Linked DNA regions of Homo sapiens: all the other regions are linked to region 1. Evidence: promoter capture Hi-C in 16 types of primary human blood cells and fetal thymus (Javierre and others, 2016). All regions are on one chromosome and are shown on one strand. Each heading gives the region's core, a stretch centred on a gene start or on the middle of the fragment in contact. The rest is flanking DNA. Distances are from core to core; before and after follow the strand shown.

Region 1 (4,156 bases), core at 811-3,310:
CCCAGCCTAAGGGGCCCTCTGACCCAGATTCCTCCTCTGTTTCCAAGTCTTTCAGGAAGGAAAAAGTAGCATACTTAGGCGACTCAGAAAATCCTGCCCCATCTTCTATCTCCTTACTCCCTCCTCACCAAAAAAGATCTTTTTTAATACTGAAGACCCCCTTTAAAAAGAAAAAGAAAAAGAAAAAGAAAACAATAGTTGCTCTAATTTGAGTGTCGTTTCCCTTTATTGGAGCATTTGAAAACAGACATTTAAGGGCAAAAGAGATGGAACACATCTGAGGTAAATCGTGTATCTATCTTCAGGCTGTGCCCAACCTTTAGAACCACCTAGAAAGGTACAAAGCTGAGAGCCTCTCTCAGATTTTTCATATAGTATTTCAAGACTCACCTCTTAATTGCACCCTTCCCCCCTCCCATTATAAAGAGCATGGAACCTAGGACCCACCGCCTTGTGTGGAAGTCCACACACCACTGGTCACAGGCCACTCACAGGTTTGGGGGACTTCATGATGATTCCTAGACTTTCTGAGTTTCCCTTGCCTCATCTGAAAAAAGGGCCAGGACCTAACTGCAGGTTGTGAGAGTTGAATGAAATCAAATAACAACTTTTCAGTCAGTGACAGACTGCATATACAAAGGTGGTCTCATACGATTATAATAGAGCTGAAAAAATTCCTATTGTCTCTAAAGACCTTCCAGGAGGACAGGATGTGAGGTGGCATCAGTGGCACTGACAATCCTGACCCTGTGCAGGCCTAGGCTAATGTGTGTGGTTGTGCCTTAGTTTATAACAAAAAAGTTTAAAAAGTAAAGAAAAAATAAAGAAAAAGAAAAATTTAAAAATAGAAAAAGCTTATAGAAAGAATACAAAGAAAAAATATTTTCATACTGCTGCACAATGTGTTTGTGTTTTAAGTCAAACGTTATTACAAGTCAAAAAGTTTAGGTCGGGTGTCGTGGTTCACGCCTGTAATCCCAGCACTTTGGGAGGCCAAGGAGGGTAGATCACCGGAGGTCAGGAGCTCGAGACCGGCCTGGCCAACATGGCGAAACCCAGTCTGTACTAAAAATACAAACAAATTAGCCGGGCGTGGGGGCACACACATGTAATCCCAGCTACTCTGGAGGGTGAGACAGGACAATCATCAAAACCGGAAGGCAGAGGTTGCAGTGAGCCGAGATCGCACCACTGCACTCCAGCCTGGGCTACAGAGCAATGCTCCATCTCAAAAATAAATAAATAAATAAAGTTTAAAAGATTTAAAAGTAGAAAGTAAAAAATCATAGTAAGCTAAGGTTAATTTATTATTATTGAAGAAATAATTTTTTAATAAATTTAGCATAGCCTAAGTGTAATACAGTGTTTATACAGCCTATAGTAGTACACAGTGATGTCCTAGGCCTTCACATTGACTCACCACTCACAGACTCAGCCAGAGCGACTTCCAGTCCTGCAAGCTCCATTCATGGAAAGTGCCCTATACAGGTGTACCATTTTTAAAATCTTTCATACTGTACTTTTGCTGTACCTTTTCTACGTTCAGACATGTTTAGATACACAAATATTTACCATTGTGTTACAATTGCTTGCAGTATTCAGTATGGTCACTTGCCGTACAGGTTTGTAGCCTAGGAGCAAACAACAGCCTGTACCATATAGCGTAGGCGTGTAAGAGGCTATACCATATAGGTGTGAGTACACTCTAAGATGTTCACACAAGAAACTCGCCTAAGACATTTCTCAGGAGGTAATCCTGTCATCTTAAATGATGCATGACTGTAAGATCTACGGCTGAGTGCCTAACTGTATATCGAGAAATAACGCTCTATTTCATCCGTCTTCCGATATTGAACTTTAACTGACCATCAGACCGGCCTGAATACCAGAATCTCTTTGCAATGCACTCGCCTCGCTCATTACCAGAAGGAGGTTTTACCTGCCTAGTGACCTGGTTGGTCTGGGCATGAACCCCGAGAGGTGGAAACTCTCAGACTCTCAGGACTGACAGCCGAGTGGCTGGGGACTATAAATCCGCGAGAACTGCCCTCGCGCTGCCATCCAGCTGGGTAGCCGGGGGAGCGCGCGTGGGGGCTCCGCGAGTCGCTCGCCCTTGGTTTCTGGGGAAGCCTGGGGGACGCGGCTGTGGCGGAGGCGCCCTGGGACTCAGGTCGCCTGGAGCGTGGCACGCAGAGCCCCAGGCGCGGAGCTGAGGCCGCGCGGCCGCGCTTGGCCCCAGCGGGCGTGGGACTGAGCAGTCTGCTGCCCCCCGACATGTGACCCAGCCCCGCCGCCCATGCGGGCTCCCGGCCGCCCGGCCCTGCGGCCGCTGCCGCTGCCGCCGCTGCTGCTGTTGCTCCTGGCGGCGCCTTGGGGACGGGCAGGTAGGTGGGTCGCGCCGCCAGGTGCGGGTCGGGGATGCCTCCAGGCCGGGGCCCCGCCAGGCAGAGCTCGAGGCCGAGCTCTCCCCTCCTGCCCGCCGGCCAGGTTTCGCTTTCGGGCGGGCAGAGGACGAGGTGCGCGGAGGCCGGAGCTTCCAGCCCCGGGGCTGCAGGGAGCCCGGGGGACACTCGCCGTCGCCTCGCGCACCTTGGCTCGGGGTCAAGTTTGCAGGACTCCGCGCTCCGCACTTTCGGTCTCGAGAATTGAGGTGGGGTGGGGGGAGTTCGGTGGGGGGTGCGCTCTGCGCGGTGCCCACAGCCTATGACTTGCGGTCGGGGACGGTTACCATGCGGGGCCCCTCGCCGGCCAGTCCCAGGTTCCCGCCACCACCGCCGCGGCCGCGCGGAGGGGCCCCTGTGGATGCCGCGTCTCGGCCGCCGGGCCCCGCAGTCCTGCAAGCCGCGCGTCGCGAGATCCGCGCTTTAAAAGCCAAACTCCCCGAAAGGGTCAGCCCCGAAGGAACATGATCCAGAAAGACGCAGCTTCTTAAAGTAAGCTCCCCCTGTCCTGGGTACGCCGTTGTTTCCTTTGCAGTTATGACCATGTACAGATAGTGCTCTTTGATTTTTCAGAAATAACAAAACTTTTAACTCGTTTACGACATAAGGTAACTGAAGAGCTCTTTCGTTTTGTTTGGTTTTTAAGTTTAAATTCTCTACCAATTGGAATCCAGTAAACCAGAATGATTCATTAACCTGATTGCTTTTTTTCCCTGTATTTCTCGTACATGAGAAAAAGATTTTTTAAAAAAACAAAAAAGATATCCGGGATCCCTTTTTAAAAAAATTATTTTAAAAAACAACAACAAAGCTTCTCCAAATACTGTGCTTTGTAGACACTTCGTTCAGGCCCCGCTGTCTTTTAACCCAGAACTGAACAGTAAGAGTGAATGCAGGAAGAAAGTTGACGGTGAATCTGGAGTCCTTGGTAGTTAAAGAAAAAGTTAAATTCAATATAGTTACAACAATAAGAAAAGTATGCACACAGATCTTGGAGAGATTTTGAACGATAGCTATTATACATAAAATATTTTATCTTTTAAATTTATCAGAAATTATAGTTATTTTTCCTTTTAATATTCCCGGGTAGACTGAATGGGAAGAAACGACTGACGTGCAAATATTGAGCCTTCAACTAACAGACAGAAATTTGTTTTTATTTTTAATCGAAGAGAGAAGCTGGGCGCTGTGGCTCACACCTGTAATCCTAACACTTTGAGAGACAGAGACATAGGCAGGAGGATGGCTTGAGGTCAGGAGTTTCAGACCAGCCTGGGCAACATACGGAGACCCCTGTCTATACTAAACATTAAAAAAATAAAAATAAAAAACTAGCCAGACGTGGTGGCAAAAACCTGTAGTCCTAGCTACTCCGTGTGCCCAGGAGTTCCAGACTGCAGTGAGTTATGATCACGCCACTGCACTCCAGTCTGGCCAAGGGTGAGACCCTGTCTTTGGGGAAAAAACCAAAAACAAAGAAAGTGAGAGAGAGAAATAAAATTGTTGGGTGCTGACATTACCAGGTAGTAATGTTCTTGACTTCAAAATAAAATTTACAAAACAAAACAGTAAGAAATCTTTTCTGACCCAAGAGACCTTGATACTACTTTCTTAGCTCTTCTTAGGGTATTCCCGTCCTCTCCTGGGTCTTTGGGCTAAGGTCTAAGGACTGCTGGGAAGACCACCTTAGAAGATGTATGTAGTTACCTGGATAC
Region 2 (4,156 bases), core at 1,083-3,582, 610 kb before region 1:
TAACCTTTACGACTGCCTTATTTCTCAAAGATTAAAGTCGCTTGAACTGAAAGTTACCACAGCTTTTATCTTCCCTTAAAAAAATACTTGATTCAAGTGCTTGTCTTCCTTTAGGCCAAATTAATTAGAGCTCTTTTTACAGACATCATATACATAACACATATATAGCTACACAGACAGGCAGAAGAAAACCCAGTCGCTGGGTGGAGCCCTTTAAGAGACAGGGCTAGGAAAATGTGCAGATATCAAACCAGAAAGGACTCATTCCCTAGGCAGGATTGCTAAACAAAGCCTTGCCATGTGGTTACAGGCCACACCCTCAGGACATATGCCCTCAGGACATAAAACAAGATGGAGGTGTGCAGCAAAGTTTGCTACTGACCACACAGACATGCAAAGCATACCACATTGGCTACAGCTTAAGACCAACCTCACAAATCCTTTTTCACAATTAAAACTTTACAGAGAATATAAACATAATTAGTCCACATAAATAGGTGGACTAAATTATGATAATGATCCTTATCATTCCTAGCCTAAGAAAATGTCTTCTAAAAGGAAAAATAAACTCATTTAAAAGTTAACTGCTGATGGAGTGGAGAAGAAAAAGGGATGCCTGGGGGAAAAACCTCTTATTCTTATGCAAATAGTTCCTCCACCCTAGAGAGAAGCTTAATTGCTGTCTGATGGGGTTGGACTCCCTGGCTGGGGGAGGGGGAGACTCCATGGGTGCCTGGCAGGGAATACCGCCAGCTGCATGGGATCCCTTGGGGCTCAGGCAGCTGCTGTGGCTCATTCCCACCCTTGGCTCATTCCATTGTTAATGGCTGTTGGACACTGTGCATACATGCGGCAGACTCAGCCATGCACCCCAGACAGTAGAGAATGGGGAGCAGGGAGCTGCCCCACCCAACTGTCCCATACACATGCCTGTGGCCATTGGGGTGTGTGTGAACCACCTCCAGTATTGTAAAAAAAAAAAAAGTTTTCATGTCATTAATGTCCTGAAAAAAAGAAGAGGAATGCCATAGGACCAAAAGGCTCAGAAGCGAATGTGAGAGGTTTTGAGTCCCCATTTCACTCACCCCTTCTCAAGCCCTATGTTCTGGGCACCAAAGCTGTTGTAGGACTTTTTCCTTAGTTGAGCTAAAGACAGCGTCCTTGCCACATGACCAAGAAAAATTAATCTCACAGACAGTTTGAAGGGTGAGGAGGGTAGTGTTTTATTGGGTGAAAAGGAAAAAAACTCAGCAAAGTGAGAGAGGCTCCCCATCTCACAGACTGAGTCCCCAGGTTATCACACTGGATCAGGAGAGGCCAGCCAGGCTCTTCCTCCCCTGCAAATGGCGCAAACTTCCTGAGGCTCCGCCCCAGTGCACACTCCTCACAGTGCACAGGCCAGTTGGAATTTCTCCGGGGACCCCTTTATACTTGGCTGTCTTGGTGAGTCACTTTGTAGGCCAAATAACTGAAAGGTCTTCAATCAATACAAAGACTTGAGATAGTAAATATAAAGCTTCAGGCAGATTATTTCAGTAGATTGTGGCTTCTGCTCTCCAAATATAAGGTTAGAGGGTCATATGGCATGATGAACAAAGCCCCTTCTAGGTAAAACACACTGTCAGTCAGTGCCAGCATTGCCCACAGAATTCCTGTCCCTATCTCTCTGCCATCCCACACCACGCCACATCATCCTTGGCCTATTCTCCCCTACAGGACTTTGCATGTGGCATGCAGACAGTCTCCCTTTTCATTTGTTTTCTAAGGCATTATGTGATCACCCAGAGAAGGAGTAAGCTTCATTCAGGTTCCTGTCCTTCTACTTTGGGCCCCAGAATCTGGTCTGCTGTCCATGGATTCAGGGAGTGACAAGGGGATAATGCCTGCTAAGACATTCTCATCTTCAGTTGAGGTGTCCTTTTTTTTTCATTTAAGAATTTTTTTTTATTGAAGTGCAGAAAGTTGCACATATTCGTTGCATACCACTCAACAAATTTTAATCAACTGACCCATCACCTGATTAAGCAATAGACAATTACCTGTACCTGGCAACTCCCTACCTGCTCTTTCAAACCTTCCCCACCCCCGCAACAAAGGTCAGCACTACCTGTGTTGTAACCGAGCGAGTTATAGAGAAACACCACACTTTGAGACTAATTCAGGAGTCCTTTATTGCCGGGGACCGAGAGACGACTAGAGCTCAAAAATTCTCTCAGCCCCGAAGAAGGGGCTAGATTTCTTTTTATACCTTGGTCTAAATAGGGGAGGGGGAGTCTAGCTGAAGCAATTTTTACAAAAGCAGAACAGGCAAAAAGTAAAAGATAAATGGTTACAGAAACTGTTACAGGAAAATAAAAAGTTCCAGGTGCAGGGGCTTAAGCTATCACAAAGTGATAAACGCAGGGGCTTTGGGTACCATCAACCAAGCACGTTTCCAGGAGTGGGTAGTACAGCTTGCCTCAGTATCTTATCAGTAAGCAATTCCTGGATGTACTTGGAGTTAGCTTGCACCAGTTATGTCCTTAAGCAGGGGGAACGAGGGGCTGCAAGCGAAGAAACCAAAGTGGAGTCTGTCCTGCTCTCTCAGATAAGAGAGAGTCAATCAGGTTAAAACAAGGTAGGGTATCACACCTGGACTTCTCCCAGCACAGATTTGTTTGATCTGCTTTTGAACTTTGTATAAATGGACTCAGACAGCTTACATGTTTTTGTGTCTTGCTTCTTTTTTCAACAATATGATTGTGAGATTTATCCATCTGTTGCATACAGTAGTAAATTGTTTATTCTCATTGCTGGATCATATTCCATTTGATTAATATTTCTGATTACTTTATTCCTTCCACTATTAATGTCAATGGGAAGCTTCCAGTTCAGGTCTATTACAAATAGCACTGCTATAAATAAATACTCCTCTTTTTAGGTGATCACATGTTCCTATTTCTGTTGGGTGAGCACCTAGGAATAGAATTGCTAGGTCATAGGCTATGCATAAGTTCAGCTTTAGTAAATATTGTTTGTTTTTTCACTTCTTTCTCCTCCTCCTTCTCCCTTTTCTTCCTTAAGCATCTTTTTGACAACAACAACAACAAAAAAAACCCATGCATGCTGGCCTCATAGCCTCATGTTTATAGATAAACTGCCACCAGCTTGATTGCCGAAATTAGCCAGCCTCAGGCTATTCTCCTGCCGTTTTGAAAAGGCCAGCTCCTTTTCACTCTCTCATCCTGCAGGGTAAAGTGGCCATCAGCCTTGTACATATTTCATGTTAGCTTAAGGGTCTCTATTGCTGATCCTGAACTTTGCAGAGACAAAATTCTGCTAAAAGATAGATGGATAGAGAGAGAGAGACAGAGATGATAGATAGACAGGTAGATAGATAGATAGATAGATAGATAGATAGATAGATAGATAGAATATATAATCTATAAATTATATATACTGTTATATATGTGTATATATACACATGTATATATACACTTATGTATACACACCTAGATAGGTAGATAGAATATATATCTATATATTATACTAGAATATGTACTAAGTTATATATGTATATATACCTATGTATACACACATAGATAGAATATATAATCTATATATTACATATACTAAATTATATATGTGTATATATACACGTGTATATATGCATATGTAAACACACATAGGTAGAGAGATAGATAATAGGTATAATATATATCTATATATTATAACATATACTAAGTTATGTATATGTGTTTGTGTGCATATATATATGTGTATATATATATATGTATAGATAGATAGATAGATAGGCATCAAGAGGCTCTGAGTTTGAATCCTCCTTCCATTCTTTGTTACTGAGTGACCTTGAGCAAGTCAGTCAACTGCTGTTTTCTCCCTTTTCTTATCTGTACATTTAGATTAATAATAATTCCAACATCACAGGTTACCTATGAGGATAGTAATATATAATACATGTAAAATGCTTAACACCGAGGCTGGCAGGCAGGCATCTCAGAGACATCAGTAAGGAAGTGTAACTTCCCAAAGGCACCTGTGTTCAGGTTAGCGATCATTTCAGTTCCCATACTCATACCCAGTGGGTGAACTTTTACTTATCTATGCTGTGAGGCTATCTTGGGGAAATGAAAAGGGGTAAGGGAGAGTCTGCCCT
Region 3 (4,156 bases), core at 1,061-3,560, 590 kb before region 1:
CCCATACTGTTCTCATGGTAGTGAATAAGTCTCACAAGATCTGATGGTTTGATAAGGGGAAACTCCTTTCACTTGGCTCTCATTCTTTCTTGGCTGCTGCAATGTAAGACATGCCTTTCACCTTCCACCATGATTGTGAGGCCTCCCCAGCCATACGGAACTGTGAATCCATTACCTCTTCTCTTTATAAATTATCCTGTCTCGGGTATGTCTTTATCAGCAGTATGAAAATGGACTAATATACTTTCCAATGAATGGTTACGTGTTTGGTCAGCTTGTTTCATCCAATTCTCAGGACTTGATCTACGAAAAGGAAAGCCAAAGACATAATAGAGCAGGTGTCCTGCTGGGAGAAGGAGCGGGAAGAGCTCTGCCATGGAGCAGATATGAATCAGGGAGGACTAAATTCCCAGTCTCCCTTGACTCTTTCTCACTTGGCCGGTGAATTAGTGGAAAAAGATAGAAAGACACAGGAAGAAACCAAGTACTTCCTAAGGCATCCCTGGCCTAGGCTGTGTTGGTCTGTGTTGCTCTGTCAGATCAGCAGGGGCATCAGATTCTCACAGGAGCATGAGCCCTACAGTGAACTGCATGTGAGGGATCTAGGTTGCCAACTCTTTATAAGAATCTAGTGCCTGATGATCTGAGGTGGAACAGTTTCATCCTGAAACCATCCCCCGCCACCCTCCATCCATGGAAATTTGTCTTCCATGAAACCAGCCCAGTTGGTTTCTATTACAGAGTTTAAGAGTAATCTAGGCAAGGGCCAAAGTTAGCACATTTCAGAAATGGTATTAAGACCTGCACTGTATCTGGGTGAGGAAACAATACTTATGTTTTATTTTCAGAGTCCCCTCTGATTCAGAGCAGACTAGGGGAGGAGTGGGAGCAGAGCTGAAAGTGAACTTGCAGTAGACCACCATACACTTCAAGGAGAATTGACTTTTTCCCTAACAGAAAAAGGGAAAGTTTCATGCTTTAAACTGTAGAGTACATGCCTGTGTGTCTTTTATTTTTCACTTATGTTTAATTAGATCTGAGAACAGGCTTACTGCTAAAGCTTAAATAATTAACTAGCATTTATTTGTAAAAGATAGATGGCCATAACATCATCTAGCAAAGTGGAGAAAATATAACTGGATTCTGTCTCTATCAAGAACATCCAGAAAGAGAGAGAGGTAACCTGGAAACTCTGTCAGAGGATAGTTCTTAGTCAAGGTAATCGCACAATACAACCTCTGCTTTACCATATAAGGAAATTAAACTTCTGGCTCCAGTTGCTGCCAGAAGTACTGACTATGGTAACTCCTGCTGTACAGCTCTGGCTCATCAGACCCTGCAACTCCAGCTTCCTTCCAGCCCTAAGGTGGTAGCAGCTTGCTGCTATTGTATTGCTAAGCACTGGGTTGTTTCTCGCTGCTCCTTATTTGGCTTCTCAGCTTTCCCATTATTGGTGAAACCAATTCCCTGTAACAAACTTTCTCATTGTGAAATATCTATGATGGTTTCTGGTTTTGTTTTTGTTTTCTTCCCAGTGGGTATCTGAATGCTATAGAGAGAATAAGAGAACTCTATACACACTTTAGAAATGAGAAAGAGAAAGTCCTATTTCTATCTTCCTATTTTAACATTGTTTAGGCTATTATTTCGTTATTTTGTGTCTTTCTTAATAGGTAGCTTTATGAAGCAAGCAATACATCAGCAAACAGATCTTGAGCACTTCCTTTCTATAGTGTACTTTAGTCATCTCTAAAAAATAATCTGATAGAACTGTTGCTTTCAGCTCACTATCACAGCAAACAATTGCAGCTCACCCTGATAAAGATAGCTGCAAATGGAATTTCCTGGACTCCACCTGTCTTCTGAGGCTTTCAGCTGTCTATGCCATATCCTCTCACATCCAGACACAAGAGTAGAGGCTGGAGCATTGTCACAGCACCTTAGGACCTTCCACGTCCTGCCTAAGTATTTCACTGACCACTGTGAGCCCAGGAATTGCCAAGGGAGCAAGTCCAACCACAGCTGCAGCAGAGTGCACTGACAGGGCAGGCCCATAATGGGCACTTGCCCATCTGTTGTGCAGTTAGTTTTTGGCCTTTTTAATAGAGTAGTGTTAGAAACATTGTAACAACTGAACATCCACACCTAAGGGGTCAGAGATGGCCTCATTAATAGGGGACCCTAAGGCAGCCCTTACTTGAAACTCTCCAAGAGAGATATACGTGTATTTTCTGTCCTTCAGAAAATGCAATTTTTTTCTGGACACATTTCTAATGATTTCACTTAATAACCACGTTTTATGTAGCTTTGAATTACTAGAGCTATCTAGTTATTATGAACCACAGGATACGATGTCAGAATCTCAAAGCACAAGAGAAATAGGACTAACTAACTTATACAAAGTAATTTGGAATTTGCAAAGTACTTTCACACTCATTAGCTCAATTTTTTTTTTTGAGATGTAGCCTTGCTCTGTTGCCCAGGCTGGTGTGCAGTGGTGCGGTCTCAGCTCACTGCAGCCTCTGCCTCCCGGGTTCAAGTGATTCTCCTGCCTAGCCTCCCGAGTAGCTGGGACTACAGGTGTGCACTGCCGTGCCTGGATACATTTGCTTTTGTAATTTTGGTAGAGACAGGGTTTCACCATGTTGGCCAGGCTGGTCTCAAACTCCTGACCCCAAGTGATCTGCCCGCCTCAGCCTCCCAAAGTGCTAGGCATAAGGTACCGCACCTGGCCCATTAGCTCAATCTCGCTGATGGTTTTGGACATTGTTCTGGCAAAAAAAGATGAGGCCTAGAAGTGCTACCTCAAACAAATGATTTCAGAATTAAAATGAGGCAATATTTTAAGTACTTTCTACTCCTGCATGGGCAAAGTCATTTTTTTTGATACAAATATTTTCTGTCTTTTGGAGAACCCTCTATAGCAGTGGCTCCCAACCTTTTTGGCACCAGGGAGTAGTATCGTGGAAGACAATTTTTCCGTGGAAGTGGGTTTGGGGAGGGGATGGTTTTGGGGTGAAACTGTTCCCACCTCAGATCGCCAGGCACTAGATTCTTATAAGTAGCCGGCAACCTAGATCCGCCGTTCACAATAGGGTTCATGCTCCTATGAGAATCCAATGGCCCCACTGATCTGACTGGAGGCGTGGAGCACAGGCGGTAATGCTCACCCACCCACGGCTCACCTCTTGCTGTGAGGCCTGTTCCTGACAGGCCACAGACCAGTATGGATCCATGGTCCCGGGGGTTGAGGACCCTTGCTCTGTAGCATACATTTGAGATCTCGTCTTATTCTAATTGTTGCAAGCAATACAACATCAGAATTTCTGGTTATGGAGTCTTGGGCCTCTTTTTACTGATTTGGAAGGAAATTTTCAAAATTTGCCTAGTTAAGCAGTTGACTCCTTTTGCTTTAGTGAGCTCAGTCTTATTATATCCAGTGTTCTTGCTATATCTCTTGATAATGAGGCTTTATACATATATATATATACACACACACACACAATCATACATACGTGTATAATGATACCTGTATATATGTATAATAATAATGAAGCTTTGTATATAAAGCCTTATCATATAAAGCCTGTGTGTGTGTATATATGTGTGTGTATATATATATATACACACATACACATACATATATATATATACACATACACATACATATATATATACACACATACTGACAGGCCACAGACCATATATATATATGTGTGTGTGTGTGTATATATGTGTGTGTGTATATATATATATATACACATACACATACATATATATATACACATACACATACATATATATACACACACATACTGACAGGCCACAGACCATATATGTATATGTGTGTGTATATAATGTGTACACACACACGTACACATTACTATATATATATAGTGACAGTGTAATTTATTTATAGAGACATTTAAACTCCATGACATGGACAAGCCCAAAGCTATGGTTCTCTCTACAATGAGCCTATTTACATTTTCCTTATACAAGAGAAACTTTCTAAAGATCTTCTTTACTTTTTTTTTTTTTTGAGGCGGAGTCTCACTCTATTGCCCAGGCTGGAGTACAGTGGCGCAGTCTTGGCTCACTGCAAGCTCCGCCTCCCGGGTTCACACCATTCTCCTGCCTCAGCCTCCCAAGTAGC

Evidence for each region. Contacts are between HindIII fragments. The CHiCAGO score rates a contact against its expected background, and 5 or more counts as called.
Region 2: a fragment that was not itself captured here is called in contact with the fragment with the promoter of IL20RA in region 1 in 2 of 17 cell types (naive B cells and total B cells); the score reaches 5.4 in naive B cells.
Region 3: a fragment that was not itself captured here is called in contact with the fragment with the promoter of IL20RA in region 1 in 4 of 17 cell types (total B cells, monocytes, naive B cells and 1 more); the score reaches 7.2 in total B cells.

What each region holds. Positions count from the first base shown.
Region 1 is chr6:137,042,869-137,047,024 of GRCh38, reverse strand. It overlaps IL20RA (interleukin 20 receptor subunit alpha), which reads left to right and starts at 2,060. Exons shown (of 7, transcript NM_014432.4): 1 at 2,060-2,384. The coding sequence starts at 2,297. RefSeq lists silencers at 2,248-2,307, 2,338-2,447, 2,518-2,567. The HindIII fragment of the contact is 2,398 bases long and covers 857-3,254 here.
Region 2 is chr6:137,649,697-137,653,852 of GRCh38, reverse strand. No RefSeq gene overlaps it. Among named protein-coding and RNA genes, the nearest start is that of LINC03004, 14 kb to the left of the region's middle. RefSeq lists enhancers at 392-908, 2,958-3,127. The HindIII fragment of the contact is 1,065 bases long and covers 1,800-2,864 here.
Region 3 is chr6:137,628,665-137,632,820 of GRCh38, reverse strand. No RefSeq gene overlaps it. Among named protein-coding and RNA genes, the nearest start is that of LINC03004, 35 kb to the left of the region's middle. The HindIII fragment of the contact is 2,496 bases long and covers 1,063-3,558 here.